Regions from separate parts of the Homo sapiens genome. Here region 2 is linked to region 1. The links are contacts of gene promoters, found by promoter capture Hi-C in blood cells and fetal thymus (Javierre and others, 2016). All regions are on one chromosome and are shown on one strand. Each heading gives the region's core, a stretch centred on a gene start or on the middle of the fragment in contact. The rest is flanking DNA. Distances are from core to core; before and after follow the strand shown.

What was found. The method cuts DNA at HindIII sites, captures the fragments that hold promoters and counts their contacts. A CHiCAGO score of 5 or more calls a contact.
Region 2: a contact is called between a fragment that was not itself captured here and the fragment with the promoter of SLC34A1 in region 1, in 9 of 17 cell types (non-activated CD4 T cells, total CD8 T cells, activated CD4 T cells and 6 more). The highest score is 8.5, in non-activated CD4 T cells.

Annotation. Positions count from the first base shown.
Region 1 is chr5:177,383,016-177,386,041 of GRCh38, reverse strand. SLC34A1 (solute carrier family 34 member 1) reads right to left here and starts at 1,608. Exons shown (of 13, transcript NM_003052.5): 1 at 1,555-1,608; 2 at 192-347; 3 at 1-55. The coding sequence starts at 300. The HindIII fragment of the contact is 19,795 bases long and covers 1-3,026 here.
Region 2 is chr5:177,345,575-177,348,600 of GRCh38, reverse strand. All of the region lies in intron 2 of LMAN2 (lectin, mannose binding 2), which reads left to right. It also overlaps the pseudogene RPS20P17. Among named protein-coding and RNA genes, the nearest start is that of LMAN2, 4.6 kb to the left of the region's middle. The HindIII fragment of the contact is 1,113 bases long and covers 1,007-2,119 here.

The sequences.
Region 1 (3,026 bases), core at 359-2,858:
ACAGGGCCCAGGCTGGGGAAGGCATAGGCAGAGGTCCCCGGGATCCTGTGTAGGACTAGGGAGGGAGCCTGGTCAGGAGCCCCAGGGCCCCAAAGTGGGGAGGCGGGGAGGAACAGGCGGGGGAAGTGGCCTCATCCGGGATGTGGGCAACCGTGGGCAACCAGGGTCCAGGGTGTGGGAGCAGCACTTACCCTGAGGGCTGGGCACGTAGGCAAAGGCCGTCCCTCGCATCACATGCCCCCCACGGACTGGGAGTGGGGAGACAGCAGGGGACCCCAGCCTCTCTCCGTAGGACAACATCCTGGGCACCCACTATGAGGTCTGCAGGTCAGTGGGTCTCAGCAACGCTGAATGACAATAGCTGTGTCCGGGACACTCATGCCCACACACCCTCACCTGCACAAACCCCCATGGCGCATGATTCCAAATACACACCTAGCAAAGCACACCCTCCATCCTCACCACACACACACACCCCTCCGAGACTCACACGCACAAACACACACCCAGCAAACCACACCCTCCATCATCACCACCACAGCCCTCCGAGACTCACATGCAGACTCACATGTGCACATCTGTGCTGGGCACCTGCATGTGAGTCTCGGAGGGGTGTGTGTGGTGGTGGTGAGGTGATCATTCATTCACCATTCACTCATTCAATGAGTATTATTGAGCTCTAGCCCAGGCTCCGAACCAGAGGCTTGGATATAGCATTGATAAAAGACACTGAGAACTGAGGACGCCCAGCCTGTTTGGGGCTGGAGGGGGCCAGGGAATACGTGGTGTTGGCAGTGGCTGCAGGTGTGGGCTGGGGCTGGGCCGGGCTTCAGTTTTGCCCACCTGGAGAGCAAGGAGGAGCTGCAGACACCTGCCTTCTCATGGGGTCAGCTGGGCACACACGGAGATCCCCTGGGCCGGATCCCGAGTTCCTGGGTTCCCCTCACAATGAATTCCTTTCCCCATCCACCCCCTCAAGGGGCAATGAACAAACACTGACAGGCTTGCCTCAGCCCCCCCTTGTCCCCGCACTGCCCCAGGAGTCTTGGCTATTGGGGTGGAGTGCCCTGATCTGCCTCAGCACTCCCCGCATTGTCCCAGCGTCCTTGGCTGTTGTAGGGGTGTGAAGAGTTGAATTCAAGTCCTGAAGGAGCAGGAGTCCTTTTTTTTTTTTTTTTTGAGATGGAGTTTCACTCTTACCGCCCAGGCTGGAGTGCAGTGGCACAATCTTGGCTCACTGCAACCTCTGCCTCGTGGGTTCAAGCGATTCTCCTGCCTCAGCCTCCCAAGTAGCTGGGATTACAGGTGCCTGCCACCACACCTGGCTAATTTTTTGTATTTTTAGTGCAAACTCGACCTCAGGTGATCCGCCCACTCGGCTTCCCAAAGTGCTGGGATTACAGGTGGGAGCCACCGCGATTGGCTGGACTGACATGTTATATGGGGCGCGGTGGGGGTGGGCGCAGATAGGACACAGATGAAGGGGCTGGGGTGCTGGGCTGTTTCCTACTCAGAGCTGGGGGTGGGGTTGGGATGTGAGGGTCCTGGGCTCACCTTAGAATTCTGTGTTTCAGCTTCTGCTCAGCAGCTCAATGAAGCCTCCAGGACCCTGAGGAGAACTGAGACCCTCCTCTTTATACTCTTGGGTCAAGGGCAAAGTCCCTGGAACCCTAGCTGCCCTCCCTCTGTCCCCCAATTAACCTCACCCCTGAGATTCCTCCCAGTTAATTGCTAATCGTCAGCTCTGCATGGGGAATCTATGGTCAGGTTCTTCCCATCAACCACGACCCAGACACATCCCCCGCCTGCAGGCAGAGACCCTGATGCCACTCAGCACCTTGTTCCCAGGGTCCCCTCGTTCCTGGCCTGACAGGACTCCCCAGGGAATGACCCAAACATCCTATGGCCTTCGGAGGTTGCAGTGAGCCAAGATCGTGCCACTGCACTCCAGCCTGGGTGACAGAGTGAGACTGTCTCAGAAAAACCAAACCAAACCAAACAAAAACATCCTATGGCCTTGCCAAGCGTCGGGGTGTCTGTAAGTCTCCCAGGGGGAGCTCAGAGGAGAGGGAGTGTGAGATGAGGACCTAAGCTGGAAAGGCCGTGGAATGTTGAATCGTGGCAGGTCTCTAATGCCCGACCATGGGTCCAGGATGTGAGTCTGAGTGAATGTGGAGCCGCTGGCCAGACTGGGATGGGCCTGATCTGCCTTTTAGAATGGCCCCCGGGGTGGAACCCGGATATATGGAAGGGAGCCTGGAAGCGGAGGGGCCAGTTAAGAGGCTAATGGTCCAGGCAGGAGATGATGAGGCCTGAACTCCGATGGGAACGGAGGGGCTGGGGAGGACAGGTGCATCCCAGGGACATCTGACCAGTAGAATTGGTGACGGGGAGGGAGAGAGGAAAAGGAAATAGATGGGAGTCGGGTCTCTGGATCTTTGGCTAGGGCTGGGTTCATGCCCAGGTAGGAGGGTGTCGCTGAGTCACGGAAATGCAATCAGTTCTCAGTTCTTGTGTCAGAATCTCTGGGTCCTTGGGCTTGAAGGTGCTGTTAATGTCACATCGAGTGTCTCCACCTATGAGCAAACTGACACCCCCACAGCGGGCCCAGAGACCCCGGCCCACGTGACCTGTTTCTCTCCATTCCCCCGTGCAGTTCAGACCCTTGGCAGGAGCAGCTGAATCCAAGGTGCTCCTGGTGAACTGGGGGTGTTTCTCCTTTTTAATAAGGTTGTGCTTTTTGATATTTTTGAAGTTTGCCTTCCCTGCTGTCACGGAGCTCTGGGTTTAGTGGGGGAGGCAGTTAGCTATCGATCAAATCCATCAAGAGATATAATTCCAAAATGCTGCTGATTTACACAGCCACCACTTCTAAAGATTTATTTTGGGGCTACAGCCCTAGTGAAAGTGAGAAAATGCTGGATCTGACCAGAGCTGCTGTTGGGACTCATACAAGCAGCAGAGAAGGCAGCTCCATTCCAGCACCAACGTATCTCTTGCCAGCCTCTCTGCCATTTCAGCACCTC
Region 2 (3,026 bases), core at 314-2,813, 37 kb after region 1:
TTCTTCTGCCTCAGCCTCCCCAGTAGCTGGGATTACAGGCGCGCACTGCCATGTCCAGCTAATTTTTTGTATTTTTAGTAGAGATGAGGTTTTGCCATGTTTGCGAGGCTGGTCTCCGACTCCTGGCCTCAAGTGATCTGCCCACCTCGGCCTCCCAAAGTGCTAGGATTACAGGTGTGAGCCACTGTGCCTGGCCAGTATGTCAGTTTTTTAATTGAACTTGTACTTTCATTTCCACACAGAATATTATCCTAATGCAATATATTTAATGCTTGAAAATGTTATTCATTAGCCTACCATATTCTTCTGCAAGTAAAATTAATATAATAATTTAAACTTTTCAATTTTGTTGAGACTGAAACTTTTAATATTTTGTTTGAGATTATTATAATTATCTGTACACACTTGATAAAAGTAAATGCATTACACAGTTTTTGAGTAATTATACAAAAGTAAACATTTTTTGAAACATGAGATCTCAGTAGGATGTCACCCCCCACCCCCATCTGGATGGATAATACTGTCAGAATAAGACAAGTTCAGTACCACTTCTACTTTTTGTTTTTATGTACATGAATTCTGAGAAACTGTGTTCTCTTAAATAGTAGTTGGAGATGGGGTTATTTTTAAAATTTTAAATTTCTATTATAGATGGGATCTTACTATGTTGCCCAGTCTTATCTTGAACTCTTGGACTCAAGCAATCTTCCCACCTCAGCCTCTGAGTATCTGGGACACAGGTGCTCACCACCACTGTGCCTGGCACAGCGGGAGTTTTGGTAGAGCAGCATCACTGAATATTTTGATCTTCTTTTGGTTTATAAACCCAACGTCATGCAGTGATCTTTTATCAAAATTTTTGATGATGTTTCGGCTGACTGTTGATTACATCTGCATTCCGTTTCGTTGCAAGCAGAGATGTGGAAACTGCTGAACTGTAAAATAGCCTCTTATTGCCAGGTGATTCTGATGTAGTTGGCCTGGTGTAGGACCAAGGCATTAAGCTTTCTGAGCTCCCCAGGTGGGTTTGCTGTGGGTTAAGAACTGTGGTCATATCGTGTTTGTCCCCAAAAGCAGCTTCTGAATCATTTCCAGCCTGTGCCTTGCCTGCTTAAGATCCTCCAGAGGCCTTCTATTGTCTGTATCATAGTATGTCTCTACTAATCTGCAGTTTTAATCTGGGGTCATGAAGACTTTCCAAGGCCTGCGTAGTCCTGGAGGAGTCTGTTTCCAGGTCCTCCACTGTCTCATGTGCTCATTCCTGAAACCAGCCTCCCCGTGAACATGCTGGGAATGGGTGTGTGGGTTTTCCTTTCCCACCTCCCTCACTCAGTTGCCCTTCTGCTCTGAGGTCAGCCTCCCAACAGCCTGGTCTTTCTTCAGGGTGTTGTCCCCAGGTGCAGAAAACTCCTGGGCACCAAAGAGACCATTTGAAATCTGGTTTCTGGGCTGACTTTTGTACATGTGAGATATTTTTTTTTAAAGTTTTCAAATATATGAGGGCTATTTTAGTTATCTTTTAAAATTGTTTATTATTGTTAGATAGCTGATGGAATTGCATCATGGTCAGATTTTTTGGACGCGTTCTGTTTGTGCTTATGAATGTGGATTCTCTACTTGTTGACTACAGTGTGCCACGTAGGTTCTTTAGGTCAAACTTGCTTTCTGAGCTTCCCAGGTGGGTCTGCTGTGCAGCCAGGGTTAAGATTGAGTTCGGATCTTCTCTAGCTTTCCTCATGTTTTTGTCTGCTTGCTTTTATAAGTTACTAAGAGAGCTTTGTTAAAAATTTCTGTGTATGGCTGGGCAAGGTGACACGTGCCTGTAAGTGTCAGCTACTGGGGAGGCTGAGGCAGGAGGATTGCTTGAGTCAAGGAGTTCAAAACCAGCCCAGGCAGCATAGTAAGACCCCATCTCAAAAAAAAAAAAAGTGTTAAAAAAATTTCTGTATATGGATTTGTCTGCATCTTTGTAGTTCTGTCAGTTTCTGTTTTATATGTTTTGAGGCCAAATTAGGTACATACAAAAACTTAGATTTATTATATCTGTAGGTAAATGGAATCTTTTATCATTAAGAAGAACCCCTTTTTACATTTTGTTATGGGTATAGCTATAGAAGCTTGCTTTTTTTAAAAAAAAAACAACAACCGGTAATCAATTTATTAAAATAGTCAACTTTAAATATCTGCAATGGTGACTTCCACCTCAACTCCTGGCTCAATACTGATGGAAGTAATCTGCTTAATCTCAGAAGGACTGTGGAGGTCAGTGAGCCACTTGTGGATTCTCATCTGGAAACGATCCCGTGTGTTAGAACCTTCACAAGGAGTTTTTCTTGTGGTGATTCTCGAAGCCTTGATAGGCGTTCCAGCTGGTCTTTTCACTTTGAGATTCTTTTCCTTTGCTCCTCTGATCAAGTCAGCACACACCTTTTCTGGGGATTCTATGTTGCAGCTCATTAAAGTGATTCAGATTCAGTGAATTGTCACCTCTGGCTCCGCAGGTTTTCTTCAGGTATCTTTAAAGCCGTGGGTGGGCCGGGTGCGGTGGCTCACGCCTGTAATCCCAGCACTTTGGGAGGCCGAGGCAGGCAGATCACCTGAGGTCGGGAGTTCGAGACCATCCTGGCCAACACGGTGAAACCCCGTCTCTATTAAAAATACAAAAATTAGCTGGGTGTGGTGGCGGGCGCTTGTAGTCCCAGTTACTCTGGAGGCTGAGGCAGGAGAATTGCTTGAACCTGGGAGGCAGAAGTAGCAGAGAGCTGAGATTATGCCACTGCACTCCAGCCTGGGCGACAGAGCGAGACTGTCTCAAAAAATAAATAAATAAATAAATAAATAAATAAATAAATAAATAAATAAATGCATGCCATGGCTGCTGCGAGCCTTCCTGACCAACTTGTTCCTCAGCCAGAGCAAACAGTGGTGAGGCAGGAGCAGGAGCGGGCAGACCACAGCTCTGCAGCGCCTGTGGCCCTGTCTTCCTGAAGGAGCAGAAGCTTGCTTTTGGTTAGTGTTTGCATGAT